Regions from separate parts of the Homo sapiens genome. Here regions 2, 3 and 4 are each linked to region 1. Evidence: promoter capture Hi-C in 16 types of primary human blood cells and fetal thymus (Javierre and others, 2016). All regions are on one chromosome and are shown on one strand. The core of a region is centred on a gene start or on the middle of the fragment in contact, and the rest is flanking DNA. Distances in the headings are between cores, read along the strand shown. Region 1 holds the start of GGA3 (golgi associated, gamma adaptin ear containing, ARF binding protein 3). Region 2 holds the start of ERLN (endoregulin). Region 3 overlaps MYO15B (myosin XVB). Region 4 holds the start of GALK1 (galactokinase 1).

What was found. The method cuts DNA at HindIII sites, captures the fragments that hold promoters and counts their contacts. A CHiCAGO score of 5 or more calls a contact.
Region 2: the fragment with the promoter of ERLN here is called in contact with the fragment with the promoter of GGA3 in region 1 in 1 of 17 cell types (endothelial precursors); the score reaches 5.1 in endothelial precursors.
Region 3: a fragment that was not itself captured here is called in contact with the fragment with the promoter of GGA3 in region 1 in 1 of 17 cell types (fetal thymus); the score reaches 5.2 in fetal thymus.
Region 4: the fragment with the promoter of GALK1 here is called in contact with the fragment with the promoter of GGA3 in region 1 in 1 of 17 cell types (fetal thymus); the score reaches 6.6 in fetal thymus.

What each region holds. Positions count from the first base shown.
Region 1 is chr17:75,260,214-75,262,913 of GRCh38, reverse strand. GGA3 (golgi associated, gamma adaptin ear containing, ARF binding protein 3) reads left to right here and starts at 1,308. Exons shown (of 17, transcript NM_138619.4): 1 at 1,308-1,366. The coding sequence starts at 1,327. It overlaps MRPS7 (mitochondrial ribosomal protein S7), which reads right to left and starts at 1,035. Exons shown (of 5, transcript NM_015971.4): 1 at 931-1,035; 2 at 226-417; 3 at 47-110. The coding sequence starts at 1,013. RefSeq lists enhancers at 249-1,126, 923-1,332, 1,803-1,902. The HindIII fragment of the contact is 945 bases long and covers 815-1,759 here.
Region 2 is chr17:75,644,830-75,647,552 of GRCh38, reverse strand. It overlaps ERLN (endoregulin), which reads right to left and starts at 1,302. Exons shown (of 2, transcript NM_001162997.2): 1 at 767-1,302; 2 at 1-182. The coding sequence starts at 176. All of the region lies in intron 8 of RECQL5 (RecQ like helicase 5), which reads left to right. RefSeq lists enhancers at 984-1,063, 1,231-1,375 and a cis regulatory region at 1,297-1,310. The HindIII fragment of the contact is 6,633 bases long and covers 1-2,723 here.
Region 3 is chr17:75,591,876-75,594,855 of GRCh38, reverse strand. MYO15B (myosin XVB) reads right to left here. Exons shown (of 64, transcript NM_001395058.1): 6 at 2,776-2,879; 7 at 2,555-2,618; 8 at 2,315-2,428; 9 at 2,016-2,177; 10 at 268-381; 11 at 97-155; 12 at 1-16. Among named protein-coding and RNA genes, the nearest start is that of MYO15B, 5.6 kb to the right of the region's middle. The HindIII fragment of the contact is 5,609 bases long and covers 1-2,980 here.
Region 4 is chr17:75,763,664-75,766,636 of GRCh38, reverse strand. It overlaps GALK1 (galactokinase 1), which reads left to right and starts at 1,445. Exons shown (of 8, transcript NM_000154.2): 1 at 1,445-1,665; 2 at 2,551-2,740. The coding sequence starts at 1,501. RefSeq lists silencers at 1,281-1,470, 1,701-1,850 and enhancers at 1,961-2,190, 2,221-2,430. The HindIII fragment of the contact is 22,999 bases long and covers 1-2,973 here.

The DNA.
Region 1 (2,700 bases), core at 59-2,558:
GGGTAGGGGGGCAAGAAAGATGACTGAGGAGGGAAGTGCTGTTTACCTGAATCATGAGGGATCTGGCCAGTACTTTGTTTCCTCCTATCATCATCATGTTGGTGAATTTACTTCAAAGAGAAAAGCAACACGTTTAGCTCTCCAAGGCTGTATCACAGAATCCTCACCAGAAACCCTCCCTGGGATAGTCCCAGTCCATGTAACAAGTGTTTGTTTCCATCTAACCTGATGACTGGGTCTTCAAACACAGAACTTGTTTTCCCTGCTGGAGCAGCTTTGATGAGCTGAGTCTTCTTGAGCTCCCGAACATATTTCTCCTCCTCAGTTAGCTCCTCCACTGGCTTGCGATAATATTCCTTGTCAATCAAGGGATCCTTGAATTCAGGACTATAGCGGCTCCATCTCACCTGAGTTAGCCTGGGAGGGGGGGAAAGGAGGAGGCAGGCAAAAGCTGACTCCACAAGCGAGTAGGTTTGACTTAACAATAGGCATGACTGCCAACGCGCCGACGAGGGGGAGCGGCGCGGAGACCGCGAGCTAAACCTGAGCCACAACAATTCAGGCCCTTGTCCCAAGTAGGAGGACATTCCCCAAGCAGGCGGGTAAAGTCTCCTCCTGGTCAAGTGCTAACGGTAAGGATGGGCTTGGCGCCTACACACCCATCCCAATTCACAGGCGATCCCAGATCTGAGCTCTTTAGCTGAACCGCACTTTCAGCTCCGCGTTAGAACCCTAGATCAGCCAGACTCCTTAGGCGAGAGGTAGTCACTAAACCTTCGGATTGGCGCAGGGTCACGCAGCTAACTTAGAAGCTTGAATCCAGATACTCCGGCCCCCAGGGCAATGCTCTCTCTAGGGGCCCACGCGGCCTGCCTGTGGCCCCCTTCCTTCCTCGCAGCGCCCCCCCGCCGCTGCTCGCCACCCTCTCACCCTGGAAGCTGCAAGACAGCCCGCCGCACGCCCAACGCCAGGCCCGACCATCCTCGGGCAACCTTCACTGCGGGGGCAGCCATCTTGGCTGGCCACGAGGACCCCACAAGGACTGCCCTCGGCGCGCCTGAGCGAGTGACGGGAAACGGGTGAAAAAGACTCCTCAGGGTCCTAAATCTGCGTTTCTCTCCACTGATCTGGACGTTAGAGTTTTTCACTCCGGGGTCCAAAGGGGAGCGCCAAAAGGAAACCCTTGCCCTCCCTGTATCCGTCGCAGTCTGGCGCGGCCCTCGGTGACGGCACTCACTCCTCTCAGGACCCCATGCAGGCCCCGCCCCGTCTCAGCTCGTGCAGACTCTCGCGAGTTTTGAAGCCGCGGGGCCGGGCGGCTGCAATATGGCGGAGGCGGAAGGGGAAAGCCTGGAGTCCTGGCTCAGTGAGTAGCCGCGGCCGTTTCTGCCTGCCCTCGAGCCGCTGGGCTGCCCCTGTCTTCACCCCCACGTCCCCTCCCCGGGCTCCACGGCGTCGCCTCTTGGCAGCCCACGCCCGGTCTCGCCCTCGCCGCGAGCAGCCTGCGATCACGCCCCTTCCCTATCAGGGCGCCGGGCCCCAGTCCGGCCCCCGCTTCCCTCGCTGCGGCGCGTCCTCTTGCTCTGGCGCGCGGCGGCGTGAACTCGGGCTCCTGTCGGGCACCGCAGGCTCGGGGAAAGGCGACAGCCAAGATCTTCGGGCTGACATGCTTCGGCGCTTTGGGGAGATTGTGGTGGGGTCGCCGCCCGGCGGTGACACCAGGAACCCAGCGCCCCAATCCCTGACTAAGGGAGAAGCTTCGGATTGGGGCTGAGTCTCCGGTAGTGGTGGGTGCTGCCGACTGCGTTCAGTCGCCTGGCAGCTTCAGAATTGTGACCATGTGTTGGAGAAGTGACGGCTTCGCTCAGGCAGAATGCTTGAAGTGAGAATAATATTCCAAAGAGAGCGATGATAGAGAACAGAGAGCTCTACCTTTTTCCTGCAGTGACCACAGAAGCATGGTGAAATCGGTGTCGGGAATTCCCCCCCCACACACATACATATACCCCCTTGAATATCCTAACGAGTCAGTGTTGATAGCCTATTCTGAGTAAGGCTGAGGAGCACAGTCTGAAGCTGTAGTTATAGAAGCGTATTGCTGTCATTGCACTGTGAATTACAGTGCTACGAAGGAAATGTGTGTTAACCTGGTTAGCAGGTAGTACTCTGCCTGAGGGTTAATAAGTGAACTTTCCTGTAGGCTAGACCTGGAAGCCTCCTTTAAGTGGAGAGAGAAATTGGACTGGTAATGGGATAGGTGAGATACCTAGTATTGCCTTGTTCTGAGGTCTCTTATTTAGTACTGCTTCCGGGATCTTGGAGGTGATAGCTATTTCCTCAAATTGTCTGATTTTTCCTAGTAAGAAACCCCCTTCAGGAGGTTGAGCTTCAGTTTAAAGGGGAGCATATCCCAAAAGAGAGAAAAAGTAAGATCACGTTTGCAAAATCTGCAGTTGCAGGCAGGTCATAAGGCTTCTTTATATATGGAAGTGTTCTCCAAGGAGCTCAAAGTACTTTACAGATATTCATTAAATTAGTTTACCAAGTATTCTAGCAAAGCAGGCACTACTGCCATAATTTCACAAAAAGAGGACATCCTGACTCCAGTCAAACCACTTGCCCAGAAATGCCCAACTTGCTATAACCAGAGTGGAATTAGTTTGCTTTGAAGGTATTAATATGGGTATTGAATAATTTAAA
Region 2 (2,723 bases), core at 53-2,552, 380 kb before region 1:
CCCGCTTCACACTGAGTGTTTTCTGTGGAAGTGAGTAAACCAAACACGATGGCAAATAAGATGAGAAGCAGGACAGCGGTGATGAATAAGATAATCACTGCCAGGCCCCCCTGGTCCCAGGGGTTCTGCCAGAACGCATCATTCCAGATTGTCTCTTTGAATACCAGTTGGTCCATGAGAATCTGGAAAAGAGGGACAGAGGACCTGAGTGCAGGCAGCCCTCCCAGGCCCTGTCCCAGGTGCTATGCTCTGCCCGCCGACTCCAGCCTCTGTAGCAGCCTCTGTGAGCAGCCGGCCCGCCTGGCAGCCAGGGGACATGAAAGGGCTAGAGTCTTTGTGCTGGATGCCTGCAGCCAGCAGCAAATGGCATTTCCCCCGCTCTAGATACAGGAGCCAGGACTGGCGCAAGAAGTGGGGCCCTGGATTCTTCCTAGGGGATGCCCCTGGATTCTCCAGTCCTTCTTTCCTGAGTAGCAAGTGTGAGCAAGGACTCTCTCTCATCCCTGAGACCTACTTGGCTAGAATCTAAAAAGCATCATGATAGAGTCTCCCTGTTTTTCCTGCCCCAACTGCCAAACATTTGGGAGGCATTTGAGAGAGCGTATAGGAGCCGAGGAGGGGCCAACTCCAGCTGAGGCCTCGGTAGCCTCCTTGGAGCAGCTGAGAATAGAACTTAGGAGTCCTCTAGAAGCGGAGCTCCTTATCGCAGACTGCAAGCCCATAGCCAGGTGAGGGCAGCCCAGGTGGAGAAGGAGGGAGCCATTACCTGATTCTGCTGGTAGCTGTTCTGGGTCCTACAAGGGCAATTCAGGGTGGTCCTTCAGGCTCACACTTTGTGGAGGGCTGAGCTGAAGAGGCCGCCAGGTGACCAGAGCTGCACCCTGACTCAAAGAAGCAACTGTTGAGAGGAAAAGGCATGAGCGTGGCCAAGCGGCCCTGACCAGACCTTAGTTGCTGTCACCAAACAAACAAAGGTGGGCTAGGGCTGGTTGCCTGGCAACCACGGCTCCCTTTCTGCCTTTCACGTTCCCCCTTCAGCTCCTTTCTGCCCTTGTGTGATGTCATTTTGGGGGTGCTCAGGGCACGTGTTCATGAGTCCCTCCTGAGAGAAGTCAGACTTGGGGTGGACGGGGAAGAGACTGGACCGAGGGCCTTTGCCCCAGGCCATCAGGCCGCCTCACCTGTGGCTGGGCTGGGCTGTCCTCTGTCTGGGTGACGTGTGGACTGCGGACCTGCCCCGAGCTCAGGAAGCCCTGGGGCTGGGACTGGCGTAGGGCTCACTTCCTGTGTTGTGGGGTGAATGATTAACTGCAGCCCTGGCTGGCGCCTGGTGCCTCCTGGAACTGTTTCTGGGGGAAGTGTTGCTCCCCCCCTGAGGCTTCCCATTGGTGCCTTTGTCTGCTCCCTGGGCACGGCCTCAGCAACATTGTGTGGTTGGTTTCTGCCCACTGGCACAATAGGGAAGCTGGGAAGAGGGGATCAAGCCTGTGCCCTGGTGCTTGAAACCTAGTGGCCACCATATACTCCTTTAAAAGCTAGGATGTGAGGGCCCGCTATGGCCAGGAACCATGCCAGGCACTGTGTGTCCAGTTGTGAGATCAGAGAGGCGGGCCCTGCCCTCCAAGGGCTTCCCTTCTAGCCCTCGGGTGCTTATCCCAGCTGGTAAAGATCTAGGAGCTTTGAGAAATGCCCAGGCCCCACCTGGTACCACTTATATCAGTCTCTGGGGTTGCCAGGATGTCGTATTGTTTACACATCCCCAGGTGATTCTCCCCAGGTGTGGCCAGGGTTGGATGACAGATGGAGGCAGATTTAGAACAGTCGTTCTTAACTATCATGGGCGTCACTGACCCGGGTTACCTGATGTTTTCTGTTTCCTTGTGTGAAACTTACTGACTAAGGCCCTTGGCATGCTGAACGCTCACAGCAGTGGGCCAGTCTCTAGCTCACCCTTTGCGTGCAGCTCCGTCAGTTAAGTCAGATGCTTATCAAGAGTCAAGTGTTGGTTCCCAAACCTGTTCATGGCAGTTGTACTTGTAATTACATAATTGAATTTAACATCCCGGGAACCAATGAAGCAACAATAATAGCTGAAACCCCAATTTTACATGTGGGGAACGGGCACAGAGAGGTTAAATAACTTAGCCGAGGTCATCAGCTAGTAAGTAACTGAGTTGGAGTTTGAATCCAGCAGCACACAGTCTGAGCGCTGAAGCACCTGTGCTGCACCTCAGAGCGAGTGGAGAAAGAAATTCTTTCTAGAAATACCTATTGACTACTTTGGGATGACTTTGGAATCACTCAGATAATGTTCCTGTTGAAAAAGATGCAGACATGATAACTAAACATCAGGGACATTTTGTAAAAACCCAGAAGGTTTTCACACCCAGCTTCCTTTGCCTTTAAGTTCCAATGACTTTAAGTTTTTGTTCTGCTTTAAAGAAACCAAAACTAGAAAATAACAATCCAGGAGCTGTGGTTGGCAAGCCCACACTCAACCAAAACTAGAAGATAGCAATCCAGGAGCTCTGGTTGGCAAGCCCACACTCAGAGAAAAGGCCAGGAAGGCCGGCCAAGGAAAAGGTGTATGTTTCCATTTAATGTGAGATATGTAAAAAAGTAATAGATGTGTAGAGAACTTAGGTGTTCTTTAACAAAAGTTGCTTTGACCAGCTCTTTCAATTAACTGCCGGCCCCAATTGGATAATTTTTTTTTTTTTTTT
Region 3 (2,980 bases), core at 365-2,864, 330 kb before region 1:
CTTGGCCAGGGCGTCCCTGTAGGCATGGCGGGTGGGTGAGCCACATAGAGCCGTGCCTCGGGCCCTGCTCTGACTCTCACCCGTCTCTAGGGCCACCTGGCATCAAAGGCACTTTCCACGGGCAGGGATCGCGAGACCTGGCCATAGGGCGTCTCCTGGAGGGCAGAGGAGGCACAGCTGGTGTGTCAGGCCTGCAGCCCTCATGGTGCTTACTCAGCCTGTGGGTCAGCCAGGCCAGGCCCCTCTCCCCAGGACCCTCGGGCTCACCGTGACCCTCCTGGTGACAGCCCCCTCCAGGCACTCTGGTGGTACCCGCAGCAGTCGGGCTGCTGTGTGGATCTCAGCCCAGCTAGACACAGCAGCCACCTCCTGGGACTCTCGCTACACAGAGAGGGAGGGACAGGGAGATCTCTGCTTCAGGAATGGACACACTCCCCAGGCAGGGCAGGCCGGGCTTTGCCTGGTAAGTGGCCCTGTCACCAAAGGGGAGATATGTCACATGAGGAGATCTGGGCCATTAGGAGCGAGGCTATGGTTTTCAGGGCCCTGAGTTCGAGTCCTACTTTCCCTCTTTGCTGGCGGACAGTTCTGGCCAGGCTCCTTCCTTCCTGCGCCCCACGGCCTCACTGCTAAAGGGGAAGCAGTAACCCTTCCTAGGGGGTTGTCTTGCAAACTAAATTAGAAAACAAATGCAAAGTGATTTACACAGTACCCAGGTACATAACAGCTGCTCGTTTGATTTTTTTTTTTCTTTTTTTTTTTTTTTGAGACAGGGTCTCACTCTGTTACCCAGGCCTGAATGCAGTGGCACGATCAAGGCTCACTGCAGCCTCCACCTCCCAGGATCAGGTAATTCTTCCACCTCAGCCTCCCCAGTAGCTGGGATTACAGGCACATGCCACCATGCCCAGCTAATCTTTTTTTTTTTTTTCTTCTGAGACTGAGTCTCGCTCTTGTTGCTCAGGCTGGAGTGCAATGGCATAGTCTTGGCTCACTGCAACCTCCACCTCCCAGGTTCAAGCAATTCTCCTGTCTCAGCCTCCTAAGTAGCTGGGATTATAGGCATGTGCCACCACACCTGGCTAATTTTGTATTTTTAGTAGAGACGGGGTTTCACCATATTGGTCAGGCTGGTCTCGAACTCCTGACCTCAGGTGATCCGCCCATCTAGGCCTCCCAGTGTGCTGGGATTACAGGCATGAGCCACCACGCCCAGTCTGTTTTGTTTTTTTTTTTTTTTCTGAGACGGAGTCTCGCTCTGTCACCTAGGCTGGATGGAGTACAGTGGCGCAACCTCAGGTCACTGCCACCTCCACCTCCCGGGTTCAAGCAATTCTCCTGCCTCAGCTTCTCTAAGTAGCTGGGATGTGCCACCACATCCAGGCACGTGTCACCACACCCAGCTAATTTTTGTATTTTTAGTAGAGACAGGGTTTCAGCATGTTGGCCAGGCTGGTCTCAAACTCCTGACTTCAAGTGATCTGCTCGCCTTGGCCTAATCTGTTCATATTTTTTGTAGAGACAAGATTTTGCCATGTTGCCCAGGCTGCTCTAGAATTCCTGGGCTCAAGTGATCCACCCACCTCGGCCTCCCAAAGTGCTAGGATTACAGGTGTGAGCCACCACCGCCAACCCTTTTTTTTTTTTTTTTTTTTTTTAATAGAGACGGGGTTTCTCTATGTTGCCTAGGCTGGTCTCAAACTCCTGGCTTCACACGATCCTCCTGCCTCGGCCTCCCAAAGTGCTGGGATCACAGGTGTGACCCACCATGCCTGACCATAGCTGCTCATCTAATGCCAGATGTTCTTAGGGGTGGCAGCTTAGAGGCACAGACATTGGGAGAGTGGAGAAGCTCTATGTCTCAGCTTTCTCATCTACACAGTGGGGATCTACCCACTTTTCAGGGCAGCCCAGCACTCTGTAGTCTCCTACACACCAGCATTTGGCGTCATTACCACTGCCCTGATTCTACAGACCCAGCACCCCAGATGGCCCCTGCCCACGGGGAAGCCCACCTCTGAGGAGGAGAAGCAGATGTTGCCCAGCTGCAGGATGGCGGCCAGCACAGCCCAGACGGCATTCAACTCCTCTGGGCACAAGCCGAGCCCCTGCAGTGCCTTCAGCAGCCCCTCAAAGTCCTGGGCATCCTCCTTGCCTTGCAGCCTGCAGGCCTGGCCCTGCAGAGCACAGCAGGGGTGAGGGAGCGGGGCCTGCCACCCCATAGCCTCCCTCTACTCCGGCTACTCCTCAGACCTCCGGGCCGAGATCCTCCTCTGGGCAGGCCTCCCCGCCGCACCACAAGGGCTCCCCCGACCTGGTTGAGGTAGTAGTAAGTCTCCGGTCCCTGCAGGGAGAGCCGCTCCCGCTCTATGGAGTCCAGCCCTGCCAGCAGCTTGTAAAAAACATGGAAGCTCCGCTCAGCCTGGGCCTTGGGGACAGGACTGGCTTAGGGGCTCAGTGCCCTAGGGGCTTAGAGGCCACACCCCGACAGTGACACCCTCTGCCCTTCCTACTCTGGGAACTGGGCAGGGGTGGATAGAAGGGCTGCCTTTACCTGAAACACCACCCTGGAGGTCTCAAGTAGATAATGAGACACAGAGGCTCCCACGATGACCCCTCTGTGGGCACAGAAGATGGGTGTGAGTGCCCAGGATGCAGAACACCCAGGGGCCCCGTGCAGAAGAAGCCCTACCAGGGTCTGGACCCCAGGGAAGCAGCCCAAGGACCCAGGAAGGGTAAGTGATTGTAGGTGCCCCCTGCAACCCTGCCACTCACTGCTGTAGGTAGAGGCAGAAGACCTGGCCGAAGCGGCTGGCATTGGCATTGAGGATGGTCTTGGCATGGCCAAAGCTGCTGAGTATAGGCAGCATATCCTCCACCTGTACAGGGAGGGGTGTTCAAGCATCCCTGGGCAGCAGTAGCCCCCACCAGCAGGCATCCCAGCTAGGGGCAGGTCCAGGGAGGCGTCAGTCCCATCAGA
Region 4 (2,973 bases), core at 196-2,695, 500 kb before region 1:
CGGAGGCTGAGGCAGGAGAATCGCTTGAACCCGGGAGGCAGAGGTTGCAGTAAGCTGAGATCACGCCATTGCACTCCAGCTTGGACAACGAGAGCGAAACTCCGTCTCAAAAACAGAAACCAAATAAACATTTCCTAACCAATGTCACAAAACTGTACCCCTATGTTTTCTTCTAAGAGTTTTCAGAATTGCCCTTGGAATGCAGTTCCCCACTCTTTGGGCACACCCCTGAGCAGGCCCCAAGCTAAATCCCTGGCCATAACTCCCCACACTACTCCCACCCTAACCCCAAGCAAGCTGCTTACATTTCAGTCTTTCAGTTTCAAGGTTCCATGTAGGGTGGGCAGCTGTGGACAGGTATCAAGGCAGCAGTTGGGGCCGGCCAGCAGGTTTAGGATGCAGGATAGCAAGAGAAGAGTGCCTGACTGGGAACAAGGCCACGCCTCTGAGACAAGGGCTTCTGGGCTGAAGTAGTGCCTGCTGGGGCCAACAGCACAACCTACCTGGACAGCTGTGGCAGGTCCTTAAGGGAGGGGCTGGGCCCACTGCTGGCCACCGCCACCCTAGTCCAATTCTCCATTGCTAGGAGCTGTTGCGTATTACCTAGAAAAGGAGCTTGTAAAATTGACTCTCTGGTCACCACCAAACTTGTCTTTTTTTTTTTTGAGACAGAGTTTTGCTCTTGTTGCCCAGGCTGGAGTGCAATGGTGTGATCTCAGCTCACCGAAACCTCCGCCTCCCAGGTTCAAGTGATTCTCCTGCCTCAGCCTCCCGAGTAGCTGGGATTACAGGCATGAGCCACCATGCCCAGCTAATTTTGTATTTTTTAGTAGAGATGGGGTTTCTCCATGTTGGTCAGGCTGGTCTCCAACTCCCGACCTCAGGTGATCTGCACACCTCGGCCTCCCAAAGTGCTGGGATTACAGGCGTGAGCCACTGCGCCCGGCCCAAACTTGTCTGTCTTTATCTCTACTTACAGTGAGTGTCAGGTCACCCTCTTGGAGACCGGTGATCAGAGGCTGATGACCTCTCACAGCTGCTGGCCCTGGGGACCTAGGGGATCCCTTTGGGAATCCCAGGTCAACCGGGTGCCAGCTCCATTGCTCTGGCTGTGTGGGTGGTGGTGGGTGGTGAGGCACATAGAAAGTCACCAGCGCCAGGGAAGGGCAGCTCAGAAATCCTGGTCATGCCAAGTGCCACTCAGGGCTATTCTCACTCTAGTGAGTGCTCATTGGTTCTTCCCGAAGTCCAGAGGGAAGGACACCATCGGGGGCGCTGTATCCCACCCGGCACCATTAGCCCCTGCCACCCACCACCCAGCAGCTGGATTCCCACGGGAGTTGCGGGTGGGGGCGGAACCGGCTGAGGTCTGGGGGCGGGGCGTCCGGGCGCGGGGCGGGGCTGGCGGGAATGTGCGCACCCCCGCGCGGGGCCCCGCCCGAGCATCCCGCGCCGACGGGGCTGTGCCGGAGCAGCTGTGCAGAGCTGCAGGCGCGCGTCATGGCTGCTTTGAGACAGCCCCAGGTCGCGGAGCTGCTGGCCGAGGCCCGGCGAGCCTTCCGGGAGGAGTTCGGGGCCGAGCCCGAGCTGGCCGTGTCAGCGCCGGGCCGCGTCAACCTCATCGGGGAACACACGGACTACAACCAGGGCCTGGTGCTGCCTATGGTGAGGGGCTGCACGGGGAGCCCCTAGCCCGCCGCCGCCTGTCCCGGCCGCCGAGGAGGGCGGGCCTCGGGGACGCTGGGGGCGAGTTCTTCCCGCGGGAGATGTGGGGCGGGCAGCTGCGCCTGGAGCACCGGTGCACGGAAGAGTCCCCGGGACAGGCTGTTCCCCACGTTGGAAGGGAGGAAGCGAGGAAGTGGCCGGGAGAGGGTGCGCGGCCGCCTCTTGGCTCAAGCCCGCCCTCTGGGGGCTGGGGCTCCTCGCCTTCAACCTGGGAGCATGTTCCCCTTAAACTGTGAGGCCCTGTGTGCCACGCAGAAGGGGACACTCCGCGCCTCCGGCCACCGTGGGGCCCCAACCGCAGACCTGGGCGAACGTAGCCTTCTGGCCCAGCCCGTTCAATTTACAGAGGAGGAAACTGAGGCCTAGAGAGGCCCAGTGAACTGCTGGAGGTCACACAGCAGGTTCTTGGCGGGGCTGCGACTTGGGAGTGAGGACTCCCAGCTTTCAGCGGGGGGCGCTTTCCGCCCCATCTGCAGCTTGGGGAGTGCACAGGTACAGGATGTCCAGAGCCACCCCAAAATGTAAAGGCTTTGGAGCTCCAGTGATCTGTTTTCCCTTTGGGCTAGCTCTCCCCCTTGCCCCACAGCTCAGGGCAGAGTCCAGGTCTGTGCTCCAGCTGCAGCCGCCCCGCCCCTGAAGACCTAAGGGGGCAGGGCTCAAGCCCCCAAGGTCAGCTGGCCCTCAGGATCTTCCCTGCGACGCTGAACCTGGAGGTTCAGAACCTGATGACTGTGGAGGCATCAGAACCTCGGCTGGAGGCAGTGTCATTGGAGAGGCTTACTCCAGCTGGCGGAAGCCTCACGTACTGCTTGTCTCTCCTGCCAGGCTCTGGAGCTCATGACGGTGCTGGTGGGCAGCCCCCGCAAGGATGGGCTGGTGTCTCTCCTCACCACCTCTGAGGGTGCCGATGAGCCCCAGCGGCTGCAGTTTCCACTGCCCACAGCCCAGCGCTCGCTGGAGCCTGGGACTCCTCGGTGGGCCAACTATGTCAAGGGAGTGATTCAGTACTACCCAGGTATGGGGCCCAGGCCTGAGCCAAGTCCTCACTGATACTAGGAGTGCCACCTCACAGCCACAGAGCCCATTCATTTGTCTGATACACTGTGGGGAAGGCTTGTAGAGTGGAGCATCCCATTGTACAGATGAGGAAACTGATGCCCCCAGAAGGTCGGGAACTTGCCCTGGGTTTCCCGTGACCTGATTGGAGGAGCCAGGATTTGAACCCCAGCCTTTTTTCCCTCCAGAGCC